2 separate regions of the Homo sapiens genome follow, and region 2 is linked to region 1. Evidence: promoter capture Hi-C in 16 types of primary human blood cells and fetal thymus (Javierre and others, 2016). All regions are on one chromosome and are shown on one strand. Each heading gives the region's core, a stretch centred on a gene start or on the middle of the fragment in contact. The rest is flanking DNA. Distances are from core to core; before and after follow the strand shown. Region 1 holds the start of RFX3 (regulatory factor X3). Region 2 overlaps RFX3 (regulatory factor X3).

Region 1 (5,525 bases), core at 458-2,957:
ACTCATGAGATTATCAAAGGCAACAATATTACTTTTAAAAACGTACCCAAAGTAGCTGGTTCCTAAAACAAGGTAACCTTGTATTCTATGGCACGCAGCCATAAACTAAAACCACCGACTTTTAGGACTCTCGGCCTGTTTTTCCTCAAATGCGAATATTACCTAACACTGGTGTTGTTGGGATTACATGAGATAATGTATGTAAAACACTTAGCACCAGTTCTGGGACACAGAATGAGCTCAGTATTATTTTAGCGCTGGTGAACGCATGCCGGCCCAAATCCCTTACTTGCAGGTGCAAAAATTAAGCCTCAAGAGGAGAACTGACTTCCTAAGGCTCTACTTCTACTATGTCATTGTCCTGGTTAAGCAGCTTAGCGGCAAATGTTGGGAGATTTTGGGTATTGGCAGGGCCTGGGGGCATGTGCCTGCTGGACTCGAGTCTGCAGAGAATTGGAGGAGTCTGTTTGAACCATGAGGCATTACAGGCTGTGCCTTATCAACGGGTGTTTGAGATGGCAGGTTGTGTTAACAACATTCAACACAGACGGAAGCCATTCGTCTATCTCAATACAGCCACAAACAGCAAGACCCTCAGCTACAGTAGGCTGAGTAACGGGGGATGAGAGCACGGCAGGTAACAGGATCCGGGCTTGAGCTCAACTCCCAGTTCGGTCTTTAAAGAGGGGTGAGCACTTAAGGGCTGAAACTAACAGAACTAGAAACTAACAGGATGGTATCGCAGGCAGGTGTAAGCTACCCCGCCCCTCTACGCCTTCCGTCGAGGGGAACCGCCAAATGCGCTTTCTCAGCCTCCGGGCAGGGCAATTTCTTGCTCTCTACAGGCACTTACTCCCATCCCTTGTAGATAGGGAGTGATGACCTCGCTTTTTCGTTATGGAGTGAGGGCCGGACACGCTTGGACCTCACCTCTCCGCGCCACGCTGCGGCGGCACCGCGGGAGGCCGACTCGCGCCCACGCACACCCCACGCTCGCCTTCTCTAAGATGGCGGCAGAGGCAGCTCGCTCACGCCCCGCCGCCCGCGCTCCTCCACAAGTCGTGCCCTCAGGAGGCGGGAGCGGGTGAGAGCGCGGAAAGCAGGAGGGCGAGAGTGACGCGGACCCTCCAGTCTAGCGCAGGCCGCGGAGCCCTGAAGCGTCCAGGAAAAGGAAAAGCCAGGAGGCTGACGCTACCAGGAACACCGCCGGCGCCTCAGAAACTAAAAAGCGGCGGCACATCCGGGCCCCTCTGCCCGCCCCGCCCCGGAAGTAACGTATCGGGCAGGGCGGGGGCCGCTCTTCAAAGTGGATTCTTCCCTCGCCATAGCTCGTTTCTTCACAAAGTGCCTGGAATCACCCTCGCCACCCCCTCCCCCGGGTTAGCCGTTACTCTCTCGTGGCTCCGGGACGTCTCTGTACAAAGCTGGCTGCTGGGACAGGCAGCCCTCGTTTCACAGATAGTACCCCTCGCACCACGACTCCTGGGCCTCGCCAGCGCGTGTAGTAACGTCCCTCCGAGAGGACTCTTGGTGACCTCAGCCCCAGCCAAGCATAGGCGCACCTCTTCGGAGTCCTGCGGTGGAATCCCGGCCTCGTGCCCCGTCACCCCGCCGCCCCGCCACCCCACCCGGGTTTGGGGGCCGTCAGTCACAGCGCTGCGCCCTCCCCTTCCGGCGGCTTGGCCGGGCCCGCCTCCTCCCCTCTTCCCTCCCCCACCCCTCCCCGTGCGAGTGTCTCCCTCTCCCTCTCGCTCTCTCTCTCTCTCCCTCTCTCTCTCTCTTTTGTGAGTTATAGCAACCGTTGCCTTGTGAATCAAGCGCCATAGTCACCGTAGTCCTGGCGACTGTTACCCATCAACAACAACTACTCCTCTCCTCCTCCTCCTCCTCTTCCTCCTCCTCCTCCCCACCACCACCATCTCCATCACCCACCAACAACACCACAATAATCCACAGCCAAGGTGAATATTCTTCGGTCTCTACATGTGTGTGGGAGCGTGTGGCTGCGTGTGAACGCGTGTGTCCGTGCGTGTGTGTGTTCGTGTGTGCGAGCCGAGTGTGGCTGTGCTGGGGTCTCACTCCTGACACGGGGGCTGCCGCTGCGGCGCCGCCGCCGAGGGGCTCTGTTCCCCGGGCTTGTTTACAATGGACCCTGCGCGCCGCGGCTGGGTCGGGGGTGTGGGCGCCGCGCCGCCCGCCGGCCCCGGCCCTGCGCCGGCCGCACTTCAGGGATGGAGCGGGAGCTTGGGGGGCTGCGAGCCGAGCGGGAGAGGGAGCCACAGTTTTCCGATGCGGATGCTGGATCTTTCCCTTAGGTCTGGTCTGAGGAGGAGGGTCAGGTGAAGAGATAAGAATTTGTTCTTTCTTTAATTTTCTTCTTTTCCAACGCTGCTGTTTCCTGCTTCTTTCAAAGCCGAAATAGACAACAGTGTGCAAGGGGGGGACCCAAGAGGTGGTGTTTTGTTGTTGTTGTTGTTCACTTGTGGGGCCTTGTTATGGGTTTTGTTATTTTTAATCCTCATACGTTGGTGAACTTTTCCCACCGCCCATTCCCTTCATTTTTGCCCCTCTTTGCCTGGTGCTGAATGGGCTGCTCTTCTTTCACCATCATCAGCTTCATGGTTTTCTTTTTTCTTTTTAAAACTGTATTTTCTTTGTGCGGCAAACAGTCTTAACATCCATTCAGCACTCTTCCCTCCCCCTCTTTCTCCCCCCCCCCACACACCCCTTGCACACATATTGAAACCTGGGGCCTGTTCGTTGGGCCCTCTTTGCTGTACTGGGAAAGATGTTTTTCTTTTTTAAAGTCTGTCTCCTCTCTCTTCTTTGGTGTGTGTGTGTGTGTGTGTGTGTGTGTGTGTGTGTGTGTGTGTGTGTGTGCTTGTGATTTAAACCGGATGCAGGGCATCTGTGATACTTGGGTTAGTAGTTATTGACAGTGCTTTATCCTTCATGTGGAGGTGGGAGGGGGAGTAGTGAGGTTCCGTTTCACTTTGATGATCCTCCTTCCCCGCAGTAGAGTGTTAACAATTTTCATTGTGATTATGAGACTTTGTGATGAACAGGGAAGGGACACAAGGAAGCTTTGTGAGAACTCAGTTCACAGTGTTATTTGTGACAGTTATGGTACTTTAAGAGTTTTTTTTTTTTTAATCTCCTCATTTTCCTTTGAGAGTTGAAATTCAAGTCAAGTTCATAAAGAATGTATGAAGGTTCTCAACTTGAAACGTGTGTATATTTCACTTTCTTTCTGGTTAAGATCTAGGCATGTGTGTACTTAACATATTCTTTTTATTTACTTTTTGATTTTCTTTGGACAGTGACTTGAACCTGCTCAGGAGAGAGAACTTTTTCCTTTTTAAGTATTTCTTTTAAAAATTATTTTTCTCTGTAGATTTGAATACTTATTAGTCCTTATATAGTAGGTTCTTGGTTAACGTTAACCCAGTTTTACAGATCCCCTAAATTTGTTCATTTTTTTCAGCTTAACTTTTAGTTAATAGATTTATCAGTAGAGTTTTGATAATGAATGTGTGCTAAAACAAATATAATGTACTATTGTAGTTGCACATATTGAAGTTTTAAATTTACAGTTTTAAAATGCTTATTCAAATAGTCTTCTTTCTAACAGCAAACATATATTGATTTAACTGACACAGCAGCTTGTGAATAATGTGACAGTACTAATTATTCTTGAGATTGTCAACGAGCAGGGTGGGTAATTATAATGCTATTAAGGCTAATATTTTGTAAAATAAGAGTTGGGATTTTAAAAAAACTTTTTCAATTCATTTCCTTGTGATTGCTATTTTAAATGAAGACGATATTTTGTTCTGAAAGAAGTCTTTCTCAGAGCACTCAGATTTGTTTATAATTATTCCTCCTCTCCCCAAACTGGGTTCCATGCAAATCTCTAATACTAACTTGTATTTTTTTTTCTGTTCAGATGAGTGTCAAATGCCTGAACACTTTTGGATGGTGAAGCTCCTGGGTCCTATAAACTCTCTCTGAAGTTAATAGGAGTTTTGCTGTCTTGGGACAGTTTCAGACCTTATGCCATTTACATAATAGGTTTTCAGTTAAGTAAATTATATACTATAATGTTATGGTTTAATATTTTATTTACAGTGTCTGAGAACTTTTTTTGAGGCATTTCACTCATGTATAGCTCAGGTTTTCTGTGATTTAGATTTTCATTCACAAGTTGATTTGAGAGCAGAACTTAAATTGAATTTCATTACTTTTCCATTTTTTGAAGCATATATGTGGGATAAAATTGCTATTAGAGCTGCTGTGGAATTGATTAAATAATCAGAAACACTGAGAAATGGTAAATTTAAAAATTAAACACAAGGATAGATACTTAGCATTTACTTTATTCTTTCTTAATATTTTTCCTAGAAGGGACTATGTTATGTATTGATACTCTCTTGTGTTTTCAGTTTTTATACTAATAGAAATTTGTAAAAGTGATCATGCTTTGAAACTAAAACTATTAAATAGAAGTCACTTGTAACTTGTTTTGAATAGTCAAATGTCTGTGATTCAATGTATGTCATAATGCCTAACTCAGTCGTTTTGGTGTGTTTTGCCTATGAATTGTATTAAATGGTGTAGGCATCATACATATACACATATATGGCAAACTAATGAATTTCTAGAAGTTTTGCATCGTTTCACAATGTTTTCATTAAAGGTTGTAGTGATGGTTAGTTTTTTTTGTATTATTCCTCCAGTACTCAAATAGTCTTGTACTCTGCTTTGGTACTCAAATAAAAGGTTATAGTTTATAAGCTTACTGTGCTTTAACCTGGAACAGTTTATTTTACCCTAAACAATTTATTATGGTTAATTTTTTTACCATTAACAATAGCAATTAAAAAATGAATGAATCTTAAAGGCAAGTTGGATTTTATGCGTCGTTTAAATGATAATGTATGTTACTTTTTGGTAACATTTTTCATTTCTTGAGAAAGTTGATATTGTGTTGGTATTCTCCAGCTGAAGAAATTAGCAGGCAGAATATAATGATTTTTGGTTTTCAGATTTTAAAGTCTGTGTGTGTGTGTGTGTTTGTGTTTAAATGGGTGGGCATAGCAGCAGATGTGTGGCAAAAGTTACACACACACACACACACACACACACACACACGCACACACACTTTTCCAGAACAGTAATAGGAATATTACTTTGTTCTTAGTATCCATAGTGAGAATGTGTTACAAGAAATGAGAATAGGGAAGAAGTAAACTTTAACATTTTTGAGAGGCTCCTGGTTATTTTGTTTTAATGCTGAACCTTTGGCTAAAAATCCTCTATTTGAGCTCAGTTACCTTAAAAACAGTTTTCATAACTGAGTAATTTGCCTTTAACTCTTTGGTATATATTCCCAGTGGCCATGACAAAGTATGTTTTAAATTCCTCTCTATTCACAGATACATAGTGTTCCCATATTTTGGAAATCCAAGATTAAGTGGATTTGACTAAATCTGGCTTGTTAGGGACAGATGGCTGCTTTAAACAGG
Region 2 (5,506 bases), core at 1,552-4,051, 280 kb after region 1:
GACAGACTGCCAACCTTCATCAATAGGATTTTCACTCAAGTTGTTTTTCTTAGGGTAGTAATGAGTGGTCAATCTTTCAGACATTTTTGTGTTCAATTCTGATTTATTTGTGAGTTTGGTAGAAGCAGCAGACTTGCCCATGATAGTAGAATGACTTTTTCCATTAAGACTATCTATCTTGAATAAGGATCAAGTCTCCGTGAGGATTACCTCTTTATCATTCTATTTAAATGAGTTGCAACTGCGTTCAATAATGAAATGCTTTCATGGCAGGTTTTATACTATACCAACCATATAGACTCCCAGCTTGACTTTTTTTTAAGAGGAAAAATAGGTAGAATGCTAATTCTTGTCACTAATGTTAGCTGCATATTTGTCTTTTCTCTTGGAACAGCTCAATGGTTATTCGGGACTTAACCTTACGCAGTGCTGCTAGCTTTGGCTCCTTCCACCTGATCCGTCTACTCTACGACGAATATATGTTTTACTTAGTAGAACATCGTGTTGCTCAGGCAACAGGAGAGACTCCTATAGCAGTCATGGGCGAGGTAAGAGAGGCTGAAAGAGCTGTGACCCACTGGGTTATTAAAAATAAGCCAGAATTACACTTCAGTCTAAATACATTATTGATTAAAACCATGGTTCCTAACCAAGTCAGCCTCAGAGCCAGGAGGGACTGTGGAGTTATTGCAAGAGTTCCTTAAATTCCTCTGTTCTTATGTGCTTAATCAAAAGATTCTAAAATTGTGGATTATATCATGTGAAAGTTCATGGAATGTGTCTCTATATTATACAGGTACCTATGTAAAAGAAAAACTTGAGAACCACTGGAATATGAAAAATATTTTAAGTGGGAAAAAGATTGGTGCTCCTGATAAAGCAAAGGGCTGGGAATACAATGGAAAGGATTAAATATGTATTTTGTAGACTCTTTCCCGGTCTCCAAGAACAAAGTAAATGATTCTATTTTAGAAGGATAAAAATGGTAATGATGATAACTAACATTTTTTGGACACTTACTATGTGCGAGGCACAGTTCTATGTTTTTTACATGTAATAAAGCACTTAATGCAAGTCTTTGAGATACGTTCTACTTTATTCTGTTTTACAATAAGCATCCGAGGTTTATGCAGAAAGCTAAGGCACAGAAAGGTTAAATGATTACTCAGCTAAAAAATGGTAGAGATTTTTTTTTCAAACACAGTCTGATTTTCAAACCCATATGCTTCTAACCACTAATGATGTAAGGGGGAAAATTCTCTTCTTCAGAATTTCTGAATAGTCATCAAAATGGCTTATCAAAAAGCTTAAACTCTGAATATAACAAGGGCTGGTTAATATAATGAGGAATAGATGCAAATGCTCAGATGGTTCAGCACTGGCTTATTTTGTTATATTGAATGCAGGAGGCGGGGGTAGTTTATACCTTGTCGAATCATACCAGATTATTAAATGTGACAAATTACCCAAGGCGGTAAAAAAGACATGTTCACTTTTAAGCTATGTGTATGTGCTTATATAAATAAAAAAGAGTGAAAACAGATATTATTCAATGCTTTTCCTAGTTTAATATAATAAGGTATAAATAAAAATACATTAAAATACTTCAAGGACCTCCCTAATATTCTAGTATAAATAAAATGCATGTCAAACTTGCCTAGAAGGTCAGTTGAAATATTCATCTTTTCCACTTCTTTAAAACCCCTTGCTGTATATCCATCTAAATGTCTTTGTATGATGTTCCCTGTTGATGATAAAGCTTAAATGATGCCAAATATATGTGTGAGATTAAGCAGGAATCACTGTGGCTTTTCATTGTAAGCAGGACCTCATGTGACCAAAACAATCTGGACTTTTCTTATATTTGACTTCCCCTCATTGCCTCTTTCTTTACTTGTTTTATAGATGCCTTGTTGGAAAATGCCCAGGTAGCACGTGGACTCAGTACTCTAAAATTTCTTAACTCAGGGTTCAAGACTTCAGAAATGGACCTTGCCTTTTAGTATACTTAACACATTTGCCACTACCTCATATGCTCAAGGACTTCTTTAACAAGATAAATAGGATAATGATGGCGGGGATTCTCATTAACACCATGTGGCTAATCTTGATGCATGGCCTTTGCTTTCCTTGCATCTCTAGGGAACAAAGGCAGTGGATGTGAGCCAGTCACACAGTGTGAAGGCTTAGCAACCTCCTGGTATGCTTGCACAGGCGGCACCAGAATTAAAATGGGCTACATAATCTATAGTGCCAACTCCATTCTAATAGTTATTCTTTTTTTTTTTACTACATGTAAACGATCTAAATGAATATGACAGATTTTACATGAGGCAAAGATATATACGTAAAATCTAAATTTAAAAAATGGTCAAAGATCTAATCATACTTCTTGATTTCTTTGCTTACTCAGTTTATAGGAAAGCCCTTTGACCTGCCTATGCTCATCCATTATTTACCCCAAAAGGCAAATTCAGACTAATTTTATAGGTTTGATCTCCTCATACAACACTGATGCCTCATACACCTGTTTGCTCTCATAGATCTATTGGCCATGGTCATACTATCATATCTAAAATTTCTTGATTTGGGGAAAAGGAGAAGGAAATTCAAAAAATAAAAAGTTTGTTTTCTCATGTTCTCCTCACATTATCCTAAGCCTACCTTCTCTTGGTCCCTTGGGTGACTTCCTTTTCCAATCACCAAATCCAGACGTGCCTGTGTACATAGTGGGAGTAACACATCAGGCCAAAATCCATTGAAATCCATACAAATCACCATAACTCCCAGTCACAGCAAATGGTTTGGAATAATGAGTAATAATAGCAACCACAAAGACAATAACAATTGTCACTATTTACTGAGAGCATATTATATACTTAATGAAGATAATAGTCTTGCTGTATCAACTAATGGCTCTTTCTCAGTAAATGGCGCCACGATCCTCCCAGTTGATTATACCAGACACGTGAGCATTCTTTTTTTATGTCCTTCTATCTTGACTCCCATCTACAACCAATTACCAAGTTCTGTTTCTCAAATCCCTCAGAGTGCAGTCAGTATCGTCTTGTGAAAATGCAAAGCTGACTGTGTCATCCCCCACTTGAAACCCTTCAGTGACTTTCCCTTGTGTTACTAACATGAGCTCTTGCATGATCTGGCCCTGCCCCTCTGATCAACATCAGCCTCCCACTTCCTACTCTTTCTGTTGCAATCACAGTGGCCTTTTCTCTGTTCTCATTCACTAAGGTTTTCTCATCCTTGGACTACTGCATAAATGGTTCTTTCTACCTGGAAGCCTCTGCCCATCTCCCCATGCCCATTCTAACTCCTACTTCATGTTGTAAAAATCAGTTTCTCAGGGAGACTCAGTTACTCCAGAATACCTTAAACAGTTCAAGTCTTTCTGATATGTACTTTTACTTGTCATTCTAGAAGCTCCACAATACTAATTGCACAGTTCTCTGTTTGATTTGTATAGTCAAAGATGTAATACCTGGAAACAATAAAGGACTTTGAGTCAGAAGTGAATTCTACTTCTAGCTCTGTCATGGCTATTAGTATAATCTTGGGCAAATCATGTTGACTTGTGTTGAACTCTAGACTTCTGATCTCCGAAACTGATTTATCATTTATTAACAAGTTTTTATTGTGCAGATACTCTATGCCAAAGCTATCATGATTGGAATATAATGATGAAAAAAATGGATTTTTACCCAGCCTTCGAGGAGCTTAGATTTCAAGTGGGGGATACATATTTACATAGTCACATAACTATAGCTACAAACTTTGTTAAGTGCTTTGAAGGAAAATTAAAGGGATATAAGAATGCTTAAAGCTTGAGGCCCTAAATCTAGCCTGGGAGGACCAGGGAAGTCTTTCCCAAGGAAGTGATGTTTGAGGTAAGAACTAAAGGACAAAAGATGTTAACTCTGTGAAGAGAGAATCTGAAGGTAAGGGGTGAAAAACACCCCAGGCACAGGGGAATGTGCACAGGCCCTGACAGAGGTGGGTGAGAGCACAGCCAAGGGGAAGTTTTCCTGAGAAACCTAACGTTCAAGCACCAGGGAGACCAAATAAACACTGTCAAATGCAACAGACAAGAGGAAAAATTGAATTAGGATAAAAAGTCAAAATTTCAAGTGAAGCTAACACCTACATAGCAGTTGTGTGCCAGGTACAGTTCGAAGTGCCATATATATATGTTAATAACTCACCACAGATCTATAAGTGGATACTATTATTACACCTGTGTTACAAATGATGAAATAAGAGGCCGGGCTTGGTGGCTCACACCTGTAATCCCAGCACTTTGGGAGGACAAGGCGGGTGGATCACCTGAGGTCAGGAGTTTGAGACCAGCCTAACCAATATGGTGAAACCCTGTCTCTACTAAAAATACAAAAAAAATTAGGCGGGCGTGGTGGCATGTGCCTGTAGTCCCAGCTACTCGGGAGGCTGAGACCAGGAGAATTGCTTGAACCCAGGAGGTGGAGGTTGCAGTGAGACAAGGTCACGCCACTGCACTCCAGCCTGGGCGACAAAGCGGGACTCCATCTCAAAAAAAAAAAATAATAAAAATAGAAAAAAAGAAGAAGAAATGAGACACAGAACCAAAAAGTAACTTGCCCAAGGTCACACAACCACTAAATTGTGAAATCAGGTTCTGAAACCACGCAGTCTGGCACCAAAGTCCTTGCTGTTAATCTGCCATGCTTATGACCTGCTACAGATTGGAGTAGGATTGGAGTAGGAACAATTTCAAGGGCAAACCTGCAAAATAGTCACAAACTTTGCTGGGTATTTGTTTTGCCTTTACAGGTGCTTGCTTTGGAAAAGGTGTCAGTTAAATAGTTTCATAAGCAAGCAAAAAGACTTTCCTTTTAAGGTGACTTAAGAACAATGAATGTATCTTTTCAATAATGTGAACTCAGTTTTACTGAGTTTTAAAATTAACATTACTTACATTATTTGAGCAGGCAGGCAGGAAAGAACAACCCGTTTTACATATAAACAAGATATATACAAGCATACAAACTATTACTTTTAAATTGACTTTAATGCTGTCATTTCAATGTTATAAATGTTGTTGGTGTTTTGAAATAAAGACTGCTATACAATGGACTCCCCTAAGCTGGAAACAGCTTCACAGTCCCAAGAAGTTTTCCTGTAAATGTCAGTATGCTACTACATTAATACTGCCTAGTAAATTATTTAAAGCATATGCAATTCTAGAGTTTTTTTTTTTTGCCTAAATGATAAAAAGGAAACAATTTATTTATTGCTAAAATTTATATAATTTTTAAATTTTCATTTAAATATTATAAATTTGTCCACAAGCTTTCTGGCAGTGGTGAAATTTTAAGAGTAAGAATAAAATAAAATAAATGAGTTGCATCTGTTTACATACCTGTTAAATAAACAATTTTAAAAATCATAAAGCTTTCCATACAACTCTGACCAGACAAATTGAGCAGAAAAATGTCCTTTTATTCAAATGTTATGG

Evidence for each region. The method cuts DNA at HindIII sites, captures the fragments that hold promoters and counts their contacts. A CHiCAGO score of 5 or more calls a contact.
Region 2: a contact is called between a fragment that was not itself captured here and the fragment with the promoter of RFX3 in region 1, in 2 of 17 cell types (neutrophils and M1 macrophages). The highest score is 7.9, in neutrophils.

Annotation. Positions count from the first base shown.
Region 1 is chr9:3,522,183-3,527,707 of GRCh38, reverse strand. RFX3 (regulatory factor X3) reads left to right here and starts at 1,707. Exons shown (of 17, transcript NM_001282116.2): 1 at 1,707-1,961. It overlaps LOC124902110 (a long non-coding RNA gene), which reads right to left and starts at 1,223. Exons shown (of 8, transcript XR_007061398.1): 1 at 931-1,223. RefSeq lists enhancers at 763-1,062, 1,323-1,372, 1,950-2,566 and silencers at 1,553-1,742, 2,173-2,262. The HindIII fragment of the contact is 14,491 bases long and covers 1-3,085 here.
Region 2 is chr9:3,243,074-3,248,579 of GRCh38, reverse strand. RFX3 (regulatory factor X3) reads left to right here. Exons shown (of 17, transcript NM_001282116.2): 15 at 395-548. Among named protein-coding and RNA genes, the nearest start is that of LINC01231, 64 kb to the right of the region's middle. The HindIII fragment of the contact is 2,079 bases long and covers 1,762-3,840 here.